Regions from separate parts of the Homo sapiens genome. Here region 1 is linked to region 2. Evidence: promoter capture Hi-C in 16 types of primary human blood cells and fetal thymus (Javierre and others, 2016). All regions are on one chromosome and are shown on one strand. Each heading gives the region's core, a stretch centred on a gene start or on the middle of the fragment in contact. The rest is flanking DNA. Distances are from core to core; before and after follow the strand shown.

Region 1 (4,382 bases), core at 359-2,858, 1.4 Mb after region 2:
ACCTCCTATTCATTTCCCATCTCTTACCCCACAAAGACTCCTTCCTTCATTCCTTCTATTGCTGATCTGTTTTCCTTCATCTTCCTAGGCTGCCAAAGTAAATGCAAAACAAGCACCAGAAATCTCAGCTTGTGATTTCTGAAGGGCATTTTTAAATGGCAAGTTTGGTGTGGCACTGTTACATGTTCTTTTTTCTTTGGAGAGCAAAGCCCTTTGAGAGAGCAGGAACTCTTCTGTCAATGCATACGTTGTAGGATCCATACTGTGGAATCTCTTGTACCTAGTGCTGCGTGAAAACAATGAGGATTCCAAGTCTACTTCACTGGACGTCGGTTCTCAAACTTTTAAGATACTAGAAGTCCTTTTATTAAGCCAAAAGACCCTATGTATTAATTCTGTCTTCCAGGGGTAGGAGTTGGGGTGGGGTTTGGAAAGCTTTGTCTGGATAAATAATTAGTATTGTAGTTCCATTTATTTGATGTCTGATTTTGCGCTTATTAAAATTGATTTAAATCCTCAATGGAAAATGATTTTTTTTTTTTCAAATGCCAAGTGTTGTGTGACTTGCATTTGGATTATTCCCGGTGCAACCTGAAGATTCCTTGTGATGAGTTGTGGTTCCATCATCTTGGGAACCACTAAGAGAATTCTGTTTTACTCACAATCCAAACAATAAATGTTTTTTTCCCTATGTATGCCTTTATCCAGCACACAGTTTGCTAGACTTATGGATGAATATGGGTTAATATAACATGGTATCTATCCTTCTGGAAACAGACTTTTAAAACCTTACTAAGCATTCTCTGCATTCATCAAATGTGAAGTGAGTGCCTGGTGTGTGCCAGGCATCGAGCTGGGCACAGCATATCCCTGCCCTCAGAGCTTTACAGTCCAGTGAGTTCAACAGAAGATGAACAGTTTTGATGACACAAAAAATAGACACATGTGCATGCTGTGATAGGGGGAGATACAAGTTCCTGTGGAAGCATCATCTGGGAGGACCAGGGAAGGCATCTTGGAAAAACTGAGCTCTGAAAGATGGATAGAGTTAACCACATGAAGAGTGGAGAAGGGTACTTCAGACAAGGTGAACAGCATCAGGAAAGCCCAGGGAGGGTATAGAAAAGAAAGAACAGTAATTCTTGCAGTGGCTTTCAATGGGAGTGGCAGTCATGGAAGGAAGGAGAGGTAGCAGGGACCAGCTTTTGAAGGTCTTTGTGTATCACATTTTAAGAAGTTTAAATTTTAACCTAAGGTCACTGGGAAGCCATTGGCAGATTTTGTATGTTAGGAAGTTCACCACTCACCTACTTGGAGTATTGCAGGTGGAGCTAATGTGGATGGGCCTCCTGCCCATTATTAAATCCTGTTCCTGTCAGGAACAGGACAGCCCATGCTGTCTCTCCCTGTGTGTCTGTCTCTCCCTGTGTGTCTGTCTCTCTCTCTCTCTCTGTCTCTCTCTCTCAAAAGCTAAAGGAAAGCGCATAGGTTCCAGAAGGAAAAAGAAATAACCACTAGAAAAATAAGTATAAGCTGACTTTACCATGGCGCAGTGAGATTCCAAACCAAAATAAGGTTTCTAGGGATTGAGCTTTTAATACTGGTACTCCAACAGGGAGATAGGACTTGGGAAGCTGACGCTGTGTGAAAGTTACAGAATTAAGCAGCCTGCAAACCTGGACCTTTGAAAATCGTCCTACTGACCCAGGAAAAGTGCAAGGAAGTGGGTTCTCCAGAACCTTGGGTAGGCCAAACATTACTTGAAGGCATCGATCTAAATAATACACAAAAGCATTATTCAGGAACACCCTGAGAAATTAACATAAAAACTGATTTGGCCAGGCATGGTGGCTCAGCCTCTGGTAACAGTGCTTTGGGAGGCCAAGGTTGGAAAATCACTTGAGGCCAGGAGATCCAGGCTGTAGTGAGCTATGATTGTACTACTGCACTCCAGCCTGGGCAACAGAGGGAGAGTCTTAAAAAAGCAAACTGTCCAAGATCATTGAAACCATTAGCACTTAGGAAGAAACAAATGAAATTACATTCAAGGGGCTCACATTTAAATCCAGGGCTCTCAGGACTCCCAAAGTAAAAAGATGGACATAAAATAAAAAAATTACAAGCCACTTGAGAAAAAAATAAATCACCATGAGGTAGAGATAGCAGAGGAAAAATTACACATGAAGATCTAGGAATTAGGGAGCTATCCAAGATAGACTGTGAAAGTATGTTGCAAGTGACTGAGGGTAATGAAAAAAATGTCATAAGAGCATGAATTAGAAGCGTTTTGAGAAAGAATGAAGATAATGTGATCATTGACTGTAAACTCATTTGATGGGCAACAATAGATGAGACACAGCTATTAAGAGTGGATCGATAACCTTGAATGTGGATGTGAGGCAACTGTAGTATAGCACAAAAAGGTTGAGAAATGATGGAGCCCTTAAGCTGCTTGTGGACACTGGTCTGGAGGGGGACAGGACCAAGAAAACCAGTCATGGAGGTTGAACTAAGTCATCTCTCCAATGTATCCGTGCCTGTTACGTGCCAGTGCCGTTTAGGAGCAGAGGATATTGTAATTTTTTTTAAAGTTCCTATGAATACCTTCTAGTGGGTCATAATGGCTCAACCGGGAAATGGCAGTAGAGATGAAGAGATGGATGGATTCGAAAGACATTTTTTGGAAGTTGGAATTAACAGGATATGGTGAATAATCAAGAGATAGTAAAAGCATAATGGAGGAAACAATGGTTCTTCCTGTTACCATAGGAAGAAGCTTTGGAGTAGAGTTTTATTCATTTTAAATGCATTTATTGTGCACTTTATTATAGGTATTGGAGATTGATGGAAAATAGTCTCTGACCTCAAAGAGTTTCACAGGAAAGATGAGCGATGGCTATGTAATATGACCAATACTGGGATAGAGAGGTGCCCAGGTCACTACGGGAGGACTTAGGTGATTTCTAACTATGTCTGAGAGTAGGGGAAATGGGATCAAAGAAAACATCTCAGAAGACATGAAGCTTGAGCTTATGTCTTGAAAAATTTAAAGTTTAACCTAACCAAGGATAAAGAATCAGAAGAAACAGCATATTCAAAAGCTAAAGAACACGGGACTCTTGTGTGCTTTGCATGTACACACGTGTGTGCGTGTGTGTCTGAAAGGATTGGAGAGGAGGGCGAAGAGAATAACAAGATGAACGTCAACCTAATGTAGAATGTTTGAAGTTTGTATTTCACTTAACAAGACAGCGGGGAGTGATGGAAGGATCTTAGATAGGAAAGGGACATGAGCACGTTTGCCAAGAGAGCTCGTTCTGATCATAGTGGGTACGTGAAGGTGACAAATCTGGAGGCAGATAGCTCACATTTGGAGGCAGTTGCAGTCATCCAGATGAGAAGTGAGAGGGACCTAAGCTGTAAATTGTGGGAATAAAGACAAGACCCGTTAAAAAGAAAGAGAACACACCATGTAGCGTGGAAAGGAGAAGGGTGGAGAGTAGCCTGTGCAGAAGGAACAACCTTCAAAAAGACATGGAAGACTGAAAAGACACCCTGTTGTAGGGAGATCAGCAATGCATTTTTTATAACCAGGTGATACAGGGAAAAGGTAGGATCTGAAGCTTGAAAAATAGATTGGGGGCTGATTGTAAAGAGCTTCGTGTCATTCCCAGGATTTTGGAACTGATTTTACTAACATGAAAAAGGTTTTGTTTTAAAATACTGAGTAATATAGTTGGAACTATAATTTAGAAAGATAATAGCTGGTGCCATCACTCTTCTAAGCAAAGATAGTAATACATTTAATGCTCATAGGCTTTAGTAATACATTTAATCCTTACAGTAAGCCTATTAGATAAAAACCATTATTATCTCCCTTCTATAGACAGAGAAACTGGCATTAGGAGAATGAGAACTTGCCTATGGTCCCACTCTGGAAATACCTAGTAAGCGACAGAGCCAGGATTCAAACCCAGGCAGCTTGACTCCAGAACTTTCGCTCATAACCTTACACATCTCCCTCATGGTTGGTGTTTCTCAACCATGGATACACATTCGAACTGCAAGTAGCATCTCTAAACATACAGTTACCTGAATTGACTGAATCAGAGTGTCTGAAAAATGATGTGTGATACTATGTTTTGCAAAATCTCCACAGGTAATTCTGTTGTACTTTGCTTATAGTTGAGTACTGCAGGGATCTTAGGAAGTTAGAGCAGTAGTCCAGGCAGGAGATGATGAAGGCTCAAACTAAAGCAGTCTGTAGGAAGGAAGAGAAGGGAACCGGTTTGGAGACTTAAGCGGGGGAATTGGCAGTATTTGTGAAGTGGAAATGCAGTATTTTCTTGCAGAGTATGAACCTTGCCTAGGAAAGGGAGTAG
Region 2 (4,527 bases), core at 1,551-4,050:
ACTGCGTGGTGACCACTGTGGTGTGTTCCTCAGTCTTCTGGGACCAGTACTTGTCCAGCTCTTCTCAGTTCTTCTGGGCCAGCTCATCATACTGGGCCGGGAGGTCTGCCATGATGTTGCTGAGGTCCTGAGATTTGGGGGCATTTACCTCCATGGTCAACTCAGAGCTGGCAATCAGGGCTTGTAGACCTTTTACTTCCTTCTCTTGGTTCTTCTTCATGAAGAGCAGCTCCTCCTTGAGAGCCTCCATCTCTGTCTCCAGCTGTAGCCGAGTGACATTGGTGTCATCAGTGACCTTGTGGAGCCCACGGACGTTGCTCTCCACAGACAGGCACATGACCAGCTCCGTCTTATACTTGACTCTAAAGTCATCAGCAGCAAGACGGGCATTGTCAATCTGTAGAACAACACAAGCATTGTCCACAGAATTTGCAAAGATATGAGCCCTCAAGTCCTTGATGGTCATGAAGTAATGCCCCCAGGCTCTGACCTGGGGTCTCTTCTTCTCCAAGTGCTCTCAGATTTTGCTCACCAGCCTCTGACTCTTGGTCACCAGAGTCCTCACTCTGTCCAGGTAGGAAATCCAGGCAATCATTCAGGCCTTGCATGGTATCCTTCTCATTCTGGATGTACCCCATTCCTTCCAGACCCCTGGCATCCCTGCAGCCAGGCCTCCAGACCCCCAGCCACTCCAGAAGCTGGTGGAGAAGGACACTGAGGTCCGGGAGCCCAAGCCCCTGAGGACTGCATAGACTTTGGCTGTGCTGCTGATGAACTGGACGCTGTGGCTGTGTGGCTGGATGGAATGCAGGGACTGGTAGTTGGTGGAGGTGGTAAAGCAAATGGTGAAGCTCATGCTGCCTAAGGAGAAAAGCGAGAGGACAGGACTCAAGTTCTGTTGAGCCATGCCCATTTTTAATTTATAGCTTAACTGAAGCCAGTATGATCATTAGAAGTGTAAGGAAGTTAACTTTTCCAATCTCAAACTTTGAACTTTTGACCACTTTCCTCCAAAATATTAAGGTCTCAGAGCCAGTTCTGACCAGCTTGTCTACACATTACTTTCCATCATTTGTCTCCATATTATTCTCCAGATACTCAGTGCTCATTCTTGCCTTGGCCTCTTTGCTCAAACTACTTTCTCCTCCTGGATTCTGTTCCACCTTTCCTGTTCCTACTCATATGCTAGGACCCAGCATTAGTTCTAGCTCTATGATAAAGACACACACATTAATTCCAGCCATAACAAAATATCCCCCAAATAATACAAGGGAAGAAGTGCTCTGGAAACTACGAAATGTTCTGCAAATATGAAGTATTATTATATTTTGGAGAAATTAATTGTACAATAGGGTTGGCCCATTGTTATATCTTGCTTTAAAGTGTTTCCTACTTGTTTCATGTGTTGTTGACCTAACATTACAAAACCACGGGCTATTAAGATGGGAGTCACATCTCATTTCTTGTATATCTTCGCAGTTCCTAACAGAACATAGCTGCAGTCAACACTCAGTTCCAGTGAAATGAATTCATCAAAATAAAGGATTTCTTAGCCACAGAGCTTCTCACTGGGCCAAGTAATGTTAAGTTGCTAAACGCACAACAAATCATTGGTTACTTTATGTGATTGTAAATGAAGCCTCGAAAGTTGAATAAATTTGAGACGTGCAGTTGATGAAATTCAAGCATCTTCTTCTTTTTGGTTCATAAAGCTGTGATTCAGGAGAATTCCTTAAATCAGAGATTCAGTGCTCTAAGATTGAATAGGTTGCTTCATGATATTTCTTAAAATTTTGTTTAAGGTCAAAGGTTCAAACGGTGCAGCTCTCCAATTTGGTATTGATTATTGTTTGTTTCCCCTTCTTGATTCAGTGGTGGAGCACGCAGCCTCTGTCCTACTTCCTTTGGTTGTCCTGATTGATGCATCTTTTGGTCTAACAGGCCATAGCCTCAAAGCAAAGTCATGGCAAGCTTTAGTTGGCAGTTAGGTAACAGCAGTCTGCCAATAGCGTGGGCCAGCTCCAGTTCCAGCAGCCTGGCGGCAGAGGGTTTACTTGATGGACCCTGGGCCTCTTCCCCAGTCTGTCCCGTGGGTAGAATGATCTTTGCCTTTGTCTGTTTCGCAAGGCTAATGGAAGAATTAAATACCAAATAAAACAAGTCGAGATAAAGATAAATGAAGCGTGCCGTTATTACAACTGGTGCTTCGTCCTCAGTTCCCTCCAGGAGGGTTGTTGGGGACACTTAATGACCGGGCCTGAGCTGACTTGTCCACCACATCTTGCGCCCCACTCGAGCTAGTGGGTTGGGGATTGAGATGTTCATCAGGCCCCGGAAAAGGCATTGATGTCTAGATGACTGTGCAGTTCTCTGGAGTTCGAGATCTGAGCTGCCTGGCCCTGCTGCTTCGCTGCCTGGATGGGCAATCTCTATGGTGACAGCGAGTGAGGCCGGAAGAAGTCTCTCTCTTCCGCCCAACAACCCGCCCTCAGGCTAGACTGACCAATGGCCCAATGAGTTACGGAGAGATGGTGTGATTGACAGTGGAGTGGCGGGGGGGCGGGGAGTGCAGCTCGGACCGCTGCTACCCAACCGAACTGAGGTCGGTCCAAAGGCTGACAGGCACCGACCAATCGGAGGGCGTAACGAAGGGTGACGAGCCAACCCACCGCGCTCGGCGTTGCCGGGAGCCGCGCTAGGCGTAAGCTAATGAGGAAGAAGTTGGCCGTTGAAAGAGCAACGCTGATTAGTGAATCTTAAATCACCTAAATGAAAGCCCACTTGTGATTCGCCCTAAGTAAACCAGAGCCCCGTGGGCTGGAACGCGCCGGAATCTGAGGTGTGAGTAGAGCCTGGGGGAGAGTGGATCCAGGTGAAGGGGGCAGAGGTGAGGAAAGCGGGGCGGCTGCGGGGAAGGGAGAAAAGTGGAGGGTCGGGCTGAGGTGGTTGGAAGAAGGCGTGGGCGGACGGCGGTGCACGGACCTCGCAGACCACCCTTACCGCTGATCTGGACCCAAGGCCCGGCTAATAAATACTTAATTGGAGGCAGAGAAGGAAGGACTGTTTTGTTTCATGCTCTTAAGAAAAGGAAGTGTCAGTGCCTGATTCAGATCTCTTATGACCGAGACCTTAATCCCTCTCTAGCTCCTGGGAGGTGGCCAGGTGCACATTCTGAAGACGAGACATGGGGGGCATTGTTTTCCTGTCGCCAGTTTGAATCTGCAACAGGGTTGGGGAGAAGCTTAGAGTTCAAGTGGGGTGTTCCCAGGCTGCAGTGCTGTGAGATCCAGAGAGCGGATAGACCGAGGCTCTGCAGCGCTTCCAACCCACAACACCGTCCAGGAGAGGGATGCAAGGAAGAGACCTAGGTTTACTGATCCTCCTTTTTCTATCAACGTGTTAAGAGCAGATGCTACATCGGTGGCATTTTGGGAGCTTGGCAACTGATTTTTTCCCCAGGCTTGCATTTTATCTAATTACAAAGGTAGAGGCGTTATTCTAATATTTTAAAATTCAAAAGATAGTGAAGTGTTTAAAGTAGAAACATAAAAGTGTGAAAGTAACCCCCCCCCCCCGTTATTTTTGAAGGTTTGGAAAACAGCTATAAAGCAAAGTGAAAAGGACTCTTCCAGAGGAGCACTTCACTCCTTGTAACCCACTGTTTTCTGTTGCTTTCAAGGGCTTGAGTCAGTGTGAAAATCGGGGGATGGGTGAGATATCTCCCTCCAGCAGCAGCACTTAGGCCACATTACCCTCTGAGGAATCCACATTTGTCTTAGATAGTAAGTCATCTTATAAGTCATCTTATAATGGCAGTTAGTATTCTCGCTCATGATGATCAACCTGGTGATGAGTACCGTATTTTTAATCCATTAGGTTACCTGTGCAGGGATCAGTCCATTTATTCCTATTTTCTCTGACAGCTGGATGAAAGGGTATGTAGAAACAACCATTAAATGAACACACACATCTAAAAGGTTTTGAACAAACTCTCTCAGAGAAAAACCTCACAGCATTGAGCACAGAAGGAAAACATTAGCCCTGTAGTTGCTTTTGTTGTCAGCTGCTGAACTGTTCAAATTTAAATTATTTTTTTTCACTCCAGTCTACCTGCTTTAAATGCCACAGATATTAAGTAAATGGACTTACCCTTGAAATCGGGTTGGCCAAGCCATCACTTCTCAAAGAAGGTTTAATGATGGCATGAACCCGTTTTTATATTTTATTGTATTGTACTCAATAACAATAATTTAGCTATTCTAATATGGGAAATTATCACAGATATTATTCTCACATTTAAATAAGATAAAAATGACTAGATGTTCTCTCTTCCTCTATAGCAGCACTCTATACTATACCCAGCCCTTCTTTTCTATGCTTAGTAAGAAAATGTATAGTTTGCTTATAAAATTATGAGCTCCATTCTTAAAAGAGCTTGGGAATATTTATCTTATTACTTTAAAGCCATACCATATATAAATCCAATGTCTCACGAACTCTTAAGCTACTAAGGGGGATTGAAGGGCA

Evidence for each region. The method cuts DNA at HindIII sites, captures the fragments that hold promoters and counts their contacts. A CHiCAGO score of 5 or more calls a contact.
Region 1: a contact is called between a fragment that was not itself captured here and the fragment with the promoter of TMEM218 in region 2, in 1 of 17 cell types (total B cells). The highest score is 5.1, in total B cells.

What each region holds. Positions count from the first base shown.
Region 1 is chr11:123,731,176-123,735,557 of GRCh38, reverse strand. The region is part of intron 3 of ZNF202 (zinc finger protein 202); the gene reads left to right. Among named protein-coding and RNA genes, the nearest start is that of ZNF202, 8.3 kb to the left of the region's middle. The HindIII fragment of the contact is 2,341 bases long and covers 438-2,778 here.
Region 2 is chr11:125,109,899-125,114,425 of GRCh38, reverse strand. TMEM218 (transmembrane protein 218) reads left to right here and starts at 2,800. Exons shown (of 5, transcript NM_001258244.2): 1 at 2,800-2,887. It also overlaps the pseudogene KRT18P59. RefSeq lists enhancers at 2,206-2,385, 1,748-2,660, 3,016-3,105 and a silencer at 2,476-2,545. The HindIII fragment of the contact is 1,270 bases long and covers 1,974-3,243 here.